Linked DNA regions of Homo sapiens: region 1 is linked to region 2. The links are contacts of gene promoters, found by promoter capture Hi-C in blood cells and fetal thymus (Javierre and others, 2016). All regions are on one chromosome and are shown on one strand. Each heading gives the region's core, a stretch centred on a gene start or on the middle of the fragment in contact. The rest is flanking DNA. Distances are from core to core; before and after follow the strand shown.

Region 1 (4,012 bases), core at 196-2,695, 800 kb before region 2:
CTACAACTGGCCCAAATTCTTTGATCTTGAGGTTAACCTGTACATGAGCACTATGCTATATTTATTTTCTGCAAAAATTATGAATTAATCTTGTCATCCAAACACAGGTTCCAAGATTTGTATCAGTCATTCAGTAAAAAATTTTTTGCCAGCACTATGAACGAAGAAATCTTTAAAGTGCAATCACCTCGGCCAGGCATGGTGGCTCACACCTGTAATCCCAGCACCTTGGGAGGCCGACGCAGGCAGATCACCTGAGGTCAGGAGTTCGAGACCAGCCTGACCAATATGGTGAAACCCTGTCTCTATTAAAATATAAGAATTAGCCAGGTATGGTGGCTACTCGGGAGGTGGAGGCAGAGGAGTCGCTTGAACCTGGGAAGCAGAGGTTGTACTGAGTCGATACAGTGCCATTGCACTCCAGCCTGGGCGACAGAGACTCTGCCTCAAAAAAAAAAAAAGAGAGTTTTTAGGCAGGGAAGGAAAAAATAAGGAGTGATCAGCACCAATGGTCAGTTAAACAGATCCAGAGTCAATAATTTACCCGAATCTGGAATTCTTTAGCTCAATCACCTCCTTGGAATTCTCCACAAGGCTTCGGAAGACTCCAAACTCAAATTTAAGAAACATTAGTCAATGTGATAACCCTATTTCTTTTTTTTTTTTTTTTTTTTTTTTGAGACGGAGTCTCGCTTTGTCACCCAGGCTGGAATGCAGTGGCGCAACCTTGGCTCACTGCAACCTCCGCCTCCCGGGGTCAAGCGATTCTCTTGCCTCAGTCTCCCGAGTAGCTGGGACTACAGGCATGCGCCACCAAGCCCAGCTAATTTTTGTATTTTAAGTAGAGACGGGGTTTCACCATATTGGCCAGGCTGGTCTCAAACTCCTGACCTCGTGATCCGCCCACCTCGGCCTCCCAAAGTGCTGGATTATAGGCTGAGCCACCGTGCCTGGCTCCTACTTCTTAAGAGGTTTGCAATTAAGGATTACAAAAAAAATCAGTGTCCCTTGTAGTAACATGATTTATTTTTTATTTTTATTTTTTGAGATGGGAATTTCAGTCTTGTCCCCCAGGCTGGAGTGCAATGGCACCATCTTGGCTCTCTGCAACCTCCGCCTCCCAGGTTCAAGTGATTCTCCTGTCTTAGCCTCCCGAGTAGCTGGGATTACAGGCGCCCACCACCATGCCCAGATAATTTTTGTATTTTTAGTACAGATGGGGTTTCACCATGTTGGCCAGGCTCGTCTCGAACTCCTGACCTCAGGTGATCTGCCCGGCTTGGCCTCCCAAAGTGCTGGGATTACAGGTTACAGGCATGAGCCACCATGCCTGGCTAGTAACATGCTTAACTATCATTCTGTCAATTAATCTACTCAAGTTCTACTGAAATAACTGCATTACTACTGAAAAAGTGTCACTTAAACTACCTTGAAAAATACAAACAGGCCAGGTGCGGCTCACGCCTCTAATCCCAGCACTTTGGGAGGCTGAGGCAGGTGGATCACCTGAGGTCAGGAGTTCGAGACCAGCCTGGCCAACATGGTGAAACTCCATCTCTACTAAAAATACAAAAATTAGGCCGGGCGCAGTGGCTCATGCATGTAATCCCAGCACTTTGGGAGGCTAAGGTGGGAGGATCACCTGAGGCTGGGAGTTTGAGACCAGCCTGACCAACATGGAGAAACCCCGTCTCTACTAAAAATACAAAAATTATCTTGGCATGGTGGCGCATTCCTGTAATCCCAGCTACTTGAGAGTCTGAGGCAGAAGAATTGCTTGAACCAAGGAGGCAGAGGTTGTGGGTGAGCTGAGATCGCACCGTTGCACTCCAGCTTGGGAAACAAGAGCGAAACTGTCTTAAAAAAAAAAAAAAAATTAGCTGGGCATGGCGGCATGCGCCTGTAGTCCCAGCTACTTGGGAGGCTGAGGCACGAGAATCACTTGAACTTGGGAGGAGGAGGTCACAGTGAGCCAAGATTGCGCCACGGCACTTCAGCCTGGACGACAGAGCAAGACTCTGTCTCAAAAAAAAAAAAAAAAAGAAAAATACAAACATTCTAAAAAAAGACCTTGAGCCTTTTCTAACTACTCTTGCCTTTTCCAATGACTCTTTAAAAAGAGAACTTGGGGCCGGGCACGGTGGCTTATGCCTGTAATCCCAGCACTTTGGGAGGCTGAGGTGGGTGGATCACGAGGTCAGGAGATCGAGACCATCCTGGCTAACACAGTGAAACCCCGTCTCTACTAAAAATACAAAAAATTAGCAGGGCATAGTGGCGGGCGCCTGTAGTCCCAGCTACTCGGGAGGCTGAGGCAGGAGAATGGCATGAACCCGGGAGGCGGAGCTTGCAGTGAGCTGAGATGACGCCACTGCACTCCAGCCTGGCTGACAGAGCGAGACTCCGTCTCAAAAAAAAAAAAAAAACTTGGGCTGGGCGCTATGGCTCACGCCTGTAATCCTAGCACTTTGGGAGGCCGAGGTGGGTGGATCATGAGGTCAGGAGATCGAGACCATTCTGGCTAACACGGTGAAACACCATCTTTACTTCAAAATAGAAAAAATTAGCTGGGCGTGGTGGCAGGCGCCTGTAGTCCCAGCTACTAGGGAGGCTGAGGCAGGAGAATGGCATGAACCCGGGAGGCGGAGCTTGCAGTGAGCCAAGATCATGCCACTATGCCACTGTACTCCAGCCTGGAAGACAGAGCGAGATTCCGTCTCAAAAAAAAAAAGAAGAAGAAGAAGAAAAAGAAAACTTGACCACCAATCAATGTGATACTCACATCTTGATTATATTCCAAGAAGACATGGAAATTTAAATCTCTTCTCAAAATAGGATGTGCTGCCACACGACACAGGAACACTTCATGCATCGCAACTGTCTTCTTGAATATTGCCAAATATTCACTAGAAACAATATACAAAATTAAAGGTAAAAAACTCCATCAACTAAAAAGTCACCTGCAACAATTTTTTTCAGAAAATACTCTTTGGATTATTCCGAATGCAAATCAGAGATACAAAGATATAATTCATGTAAACAAGGTTTTTAGTTGAACTGTTAATGAAATACATAAAACCCAGCTTTGAAAAAGGTTTCATGCCAGTTAATAATATTTATATCTAAATGTTAATATTTTTAAGTTTTACAAATTTTTCTTACTTATGCGAGTTGATGTTAAAGTTAACTATAGGGCTGCTTGTTCTCAGCTCTACAGGAAGTGTGCTACAAATTATTTGATAGAATCTTAATGATTCAATATCCAATGACTGCTTTTAAACAACTTAGTACAAAAAAAATTAAAACCCAAACCTCGGTGAGCATATTTTCAACGTTAATAATTATTTTCATCTAATTACCCAAACACACAAGAAACACACTATGAAGAAACTAATTTTTTTTGCCATTACACCAAAGAAATGTGTTTAAAATATTTTAATACCAGCAGTGAATCCCAGAGACCACAAAGTAATACATGTCAGTTTGGGGGAAAAAAAAAAAAAAACATTCAAGGAAAAGGCTTGATATTCTTGCTTCAACTACGTGCAAGAAGGATAAGTTTTACATACCAGCAAACCAGCAGGACCAATGATGGGAGAAGTTTGATCTCTGTGAGGGTAGTCATTCAGTGAAGACAAAAAAGAAGGATGCAGAGGATGGAGGTAGCAGTAGAATAAACCCAAGGTTCTCTGTTATCCAACCCCTAACCAGACCACAAAAGAATCATGATCAGGGCCACTGGAAAATCACAGATTCTTCGATATTAATGTGCTCTGCTCATTTCCAATTTTCAGTCTTATAAACTTTGAATATATATCTGTCTGCTATCAGACCGCTGCTTGCAACTAAGACCTGCTTTGCTGATTTATCTTTTCAAGAGTTTAGCATCCTGAAGAGAAGTATAGTAGCAGTGTGAATATATAACTAAAAACTAAAACTAGTGGAAGAAGAGAAGAGGAAATGCATGAAGGGGAGAAATGACCAGAAAAAGTGACAGAGGTGATAACTAAGG
Region 2 (4,582 bases), core at 1-2,500:
CCAGGTGGGTCATAAAGACCTCACCAAATCAGTGGAATTTCCTTCACTCTCTAGGATGTGGGCTGATGTGAAGTAAAAGGTGAGGGTAAATAGTGCTCAGTGGCCCTGAATTCAGAAAGGATCTGGGGTGACTCTGCTACATCAGCTACGTCCCAGGGTCAGAGAGAACCCGGGCCAGGCAAGCGGCGCACCTGCTGCAGGTTGTTCTGGAAGTTGAGGAAGGCCAGGTCTCCCTTCACCTGGCGGATCACTTCCATGGTCAGTGCCTTTTCTTCATGGATGATGGCCAAGTGCAGGAACCTGTGGGGAAGAGAGGGAAAAACCCCAGGGGTGGTGAGTGCACCGCGTGGGGCCCAGGGAGGCGCGGGCTGCGGGGGATTGCGCAAGGCCGGGGTTTCTGGAGGCCGAGGCCGCGGTGTTTTCCGCGAGGTTATTATGAGCTGAGTGTTCCTGGCAGGCGCCCAGGGACTTTCCGCCCCCCTCCCCCCGCGGCCCCGGCGGGCGCCGGCCAGACCGCCCCGCCCTCCCGCCAGCTCGGAACGCCCTGTACTTCCCCTCCCGGCTGCTCGGCGCCCGCCAGCGGCCAGAAACTCCCGCCCCGCCTTATGCAACCGGGGACTTCGCGTCCCCGCTGCCGCCCCGCCCCCGGCCTAGAGGACGGGTCTGGGGGGAGGGGGCGTGTGGCGACGCTGCCATCCACCAGGGCCCAGCCGCCGCCCCTCCGAGTTGGGCCGGTGCCCCGCGCGGCCCTGCAGCCCTGCAGCGTTCGGGGCGGTGCAGGAGCCCCGGGGTGCCGCGGCGCCCGCCCGGCTGCATCGCTGGTCCCCCGGCTCGGGCTCCAGGCCCGGCGCCTCCCACCCCCAGGCCGCGCGCGTCCCGCCCTCCCGACGACCCCCAGCCCCGGGCCTCCGCCACTTACGAGTCCCCGTCCTCGGTGAGCTGCTGCTTCCAGGGCTCCGAGCCGCGCGGCACCTCCTGCGGCTCGAGGCGGATCTCCTGCAGCTCCTTGACCATCTGCTCGTACTCCTCGTCTTTCATGGAGTCCAGGCCGCTGTCGTGGCGGTCGTCCAGTAGCCGCTCCTTCTTCAGCCCGTCGCGGGGGCCCTCCATGGCCCACTCCTGGGGGCGCTCGGCCGCCTGGAACATGGCGCGGACGAGCTGCGGGCGCTGCTGCGGGTGCGCTGGGCCGCGGGCTGCGCGCTGCTTCCTCGCTGGGGCGCTGGCGGGCGGGACGGCGGCACGGACTGCTGTGGGCTCTGCAGCGCCGCCGCGGCGCCCTATAAACGCTGGCTGGGGATTTCTCTGGGGCGGGGTCAGGCTCGGGGAATTTCCAAGCCAGTCAGACCAGAAAAAGAGAACTGGCTTCGTCCTCTGCTAGGGGGAAAAAGAAGCCTAAACCCTGAGCTGGGGTTCATCGGAGAAACTCCCTGCGATGAGCCACTAGGGTCACGGACAGGGAACTTTTTGATGAGCGCCGAGTGGCTGGAAAGTCCTTCCGACCAGGCCCCCTCCCCCCGGTACTTCCCTGCAGCCTGCACCCTGTAATCCTGTCCCTCTGCAAGTGAGCCTTCTTTCCCTGGGGTTTCCCACGATCGATTTGAATTGGGGTCGTCGGCTGCTGAGATCCCAAGGACGCCGACCTGATGGGCGGTCCCTCTTTGGGGTTTGCCAACCTGCCGGTCCTTTCCGTTTTTTGATCTTTTGAAAACGCAAGAGTGGAAATGATGGCTGGGCGTAGGGATTTGCTTTCCCCAGACTTCTAAGGGGAAGGACGCACTGTGGTTAGGGGGCTGCAGGCCGCGCCGGTGTTTCTGCCTATACCAGGCTCTTTGCAGCAAAGGAACTTTTAGCTTCGCCCCCACCCCCCCACGCACCCCCGCCAGGTAGAAGTTGTGAAAGCTTTGGAGGAGTGAAAAGCCTAAATCCTTGGAGAACTCTCAAATCACTTCCTAGGGATGAACAGCCCTGTTGACTGGGGGAGGGGCAAACGCTCCCTGTATGGGGAAACTGCTGAATAGGACCATGATTTTTTTTGTTTCCCAAGTAAAGCAAGGTGTTAATGTTTGTAGTGGTGGTTGTGGATACCTTGCAATAGCAGAGTAGCTATTGTGTTCATAAGTAGCTATTCGTTTATGCTATCTGACCTACATTGTGCTCCCGCAGAAAAAGGATCGTGAGCCTACTTCTGGGCACCCAAATTCGAGGAGAACTTAGAGAAGGAGGCTGAAGAATGAGTTTAGTTAGTGCCTTAACCGCGATTGGACCTTAAGGACCACTAAGAAAGTAGTTGCCAGGCATCCTGCGGGAGGCTCAAGGTAGTCCCATCCTGCCCGCCCCTCCTTGCTCTCTTGTCCTGGGGGACAGTAGCAGTTGGACCCATTCACGCCACCTGGGTAGAAAGGGGTTTCGGCTCACTATGCTCTGGTTTCACCTGCAGAAATATAATTTATGCTCTCCACTCCACCTCCACCTCCAAGCCTGCAAGCCATGGACTGAATTCATCTACTTGGTAGAATTGGTACAGGCAAAATAAAGCAAACTTCGGTCAGAGCTCTTCAGAATTAGTCCCAGGAGGCCTCTGTAGTTCTGCAGAGATTTCTGGTGATTATTGCAATCATCTTTACCTTGACTGGCCTTGTACTAACCAATCCTTCCCCTCTCTTCGTATCTCCACCCCTCCCCTAATATTAGAATGAAAGAAATCTGACTCGATAGAGAGAGACCAAGTATGAAGGGAAAAAAATTAAAATCAGATAGACCCTCCAGGGTAATAATGATCACATGTTACAATGAAAACTTCCCAGGGATAGACACCATTGTCTCTGCAGGTTTATGATATGCAAATCTACAATGATTGAGGCAAGGTGAAACAGTGACTGCAATGGGACATCTCAATTCCAGGTTCTATCTTTACTTGACTGCACATTAGTTGGAGAGGTCAGTTAACTTTTTTGTGGTATACTTAACTTTTATAATAAGATTAGATTGAATGTTACTTAAGGTCTTTTCTAGCTTAAAAGTCATATTGCTTGTCTACAAATGCATGCCTAACTCTCCTTTGTAAGGGTGACCATGGCTCTTGGAAATGTCAGGGTATAAATTTTTGAAAGAATTCCAGCGCCTTATGTACCACATTGTTCTCAGAACTAATCTTGTAAGATAGATATTGTTCCTACTTCCCTAAAAAGAAACTGAAATGCATAGAAATTTACCCAGGAACCCCTTGGCAGTATATTAATCATTTGGCCAAAGCAGTCTTAGTATTAACACTTTTGAAAACACGCTGTGAAAATCAGACTGACTACACTATAATTTGGAATGTACTCAAAAGTATTTTCTACTCCAACTGTTAGGGAAAATAAAGGGTGGGTGTCCCCTGACCCCCATCTGGGGATAGTCACTTCTTTTAAACAAGTACAGAAACATCAAACTCTAAATGTCCCAATTATAGAGGATACATCAGAAGAAGATATTTGGCTTCAGGTATAAAAATGGTTATAAAAAATAAAAATATCTGAGGAATAAGGTTTTTTTGCACCACCTTCTATGGTTTTATATTTCTGGTAGCCTTCAGGATCTTGGTGTTTATTCCTGATTGTTTTGTGTGACACCTAGTGGTAAGAGTAAGGCACAGGCGTTCCTTGATTTGTCATAGTGCCTTTTGCAAAAATTGGGAGGTGCTGAGCCTTGATGACTTGTCCCTACAGTGGAGATTTCCAAGGAGGTACCTATTGTTTTCCTGCGACTCTGGGAAACAGTTTTGAATAATGTGATCCAACAGGTTTTCTCCCCATCATCTATAGCGCTATATGGTTTAAGTCAACAAACATTACAACGTGGGTGAAAAAGAATATACACTTGGAAATTAGAACCATGAGCAGACTGGGCAGAAGACAACAAGAGGGTCTGGTTTTGATTTAGAAAGACCTTTATGGGCCAGGAGTTGTGGCTCACTGCTGTAATTTCAGCACTTTGGGTTGCTGAGGCAGGAGGATTGCTTGCCACCCAGGAGTTGGAGACCAGCCTGGGCAACAAGGCTAAACTCTTGTCTCTACAAAAAATATAATTAGCAGAGTGTGGTGGCAGGTGCCTGTAGTCCCAGCTACTCCAGAGGCAGAAGTGGGAGAATTGCTTGAGCCTGGGAGGTGGAGTTTGTAGTGAGCCATGATGGCACAACTGCACTCCAGCTTGAGCAACAGACTGAGACCCTGTCTCAAAAAGAAAAAAAAGAAAAAGAAAGACCTTTATGGACCCTTCAGCACTCAGATTTTTCTCCTCCTCATTGTCAAACATTCTAGCTAACATAACCGTTAAAAAAAATGTTAAAACTGTAGGCTGTGCGCAGTGGCTCACGCCTATAATCTCAGCACTTTGGGAGGCTGAGGCAGGTGGATCATGAGGTCAGGAGTTCGAGACCAGCCTGGCCAACATGATGAAACCCCGTCTCTACTAAAGATACAAAAAATTAGTCGGGTGTGGTGGTGCAGATGCTGCTTAGGAGGCTGAGGCAGGAGAATCACTTGAACCGAGGAGGCAGAGGTTGCAGTGAGCCGAGATCGCGCCATTGCACGCCAGCCTGGGC

The links. Contacts are between HindIII fragments. The CHiCAGO score rates a contact against its expected background, and 5 or more counts as called.
Region 1: a fragment that was not itself captured here is called in contact with the fragment with the promoter of NFKBIA in region 2 in 1 of 17 cell types (total B cells); the score reaches 7.3 in total B cells.

The regions. Positions count from the first base shown.
Region 1 is chr14:34,600,566-34,604,577 of GRCh38, forward strand. It overlaps SNX6 (sorting nexin 6), which reads right to left. Exons shown (of 14, transcript NM_152233.4): 6 at 2,783-2,906. Among named protein-coding and RNA genes, the nearest start is that of SNX6, 28 kb to the right of the region's middle. The HindIII fragment of the contact is 6,636 bases long and covers 1-4,012 here.
Region 2 is chr14:35,403,499-35,408,080 of GRCh38, forward strand. NFKBIA (NFKB inhibitor alpha) reads right to left here and starts at 1,251. Exons shown (of 6, transcript NM_020529.3): 1 at 920-1,251; 2 at 192-300. The coding sequence starts at 1,146. RefSeq lists enhancers at 1-52, 83-132, 1,237-2,108, 1,313-1,712, 3,690-3,749 and silencers at 333-922, 1,073-1,242. The HindIII fragment of the contact is 3,306 bases long and covers 1-1,897 here.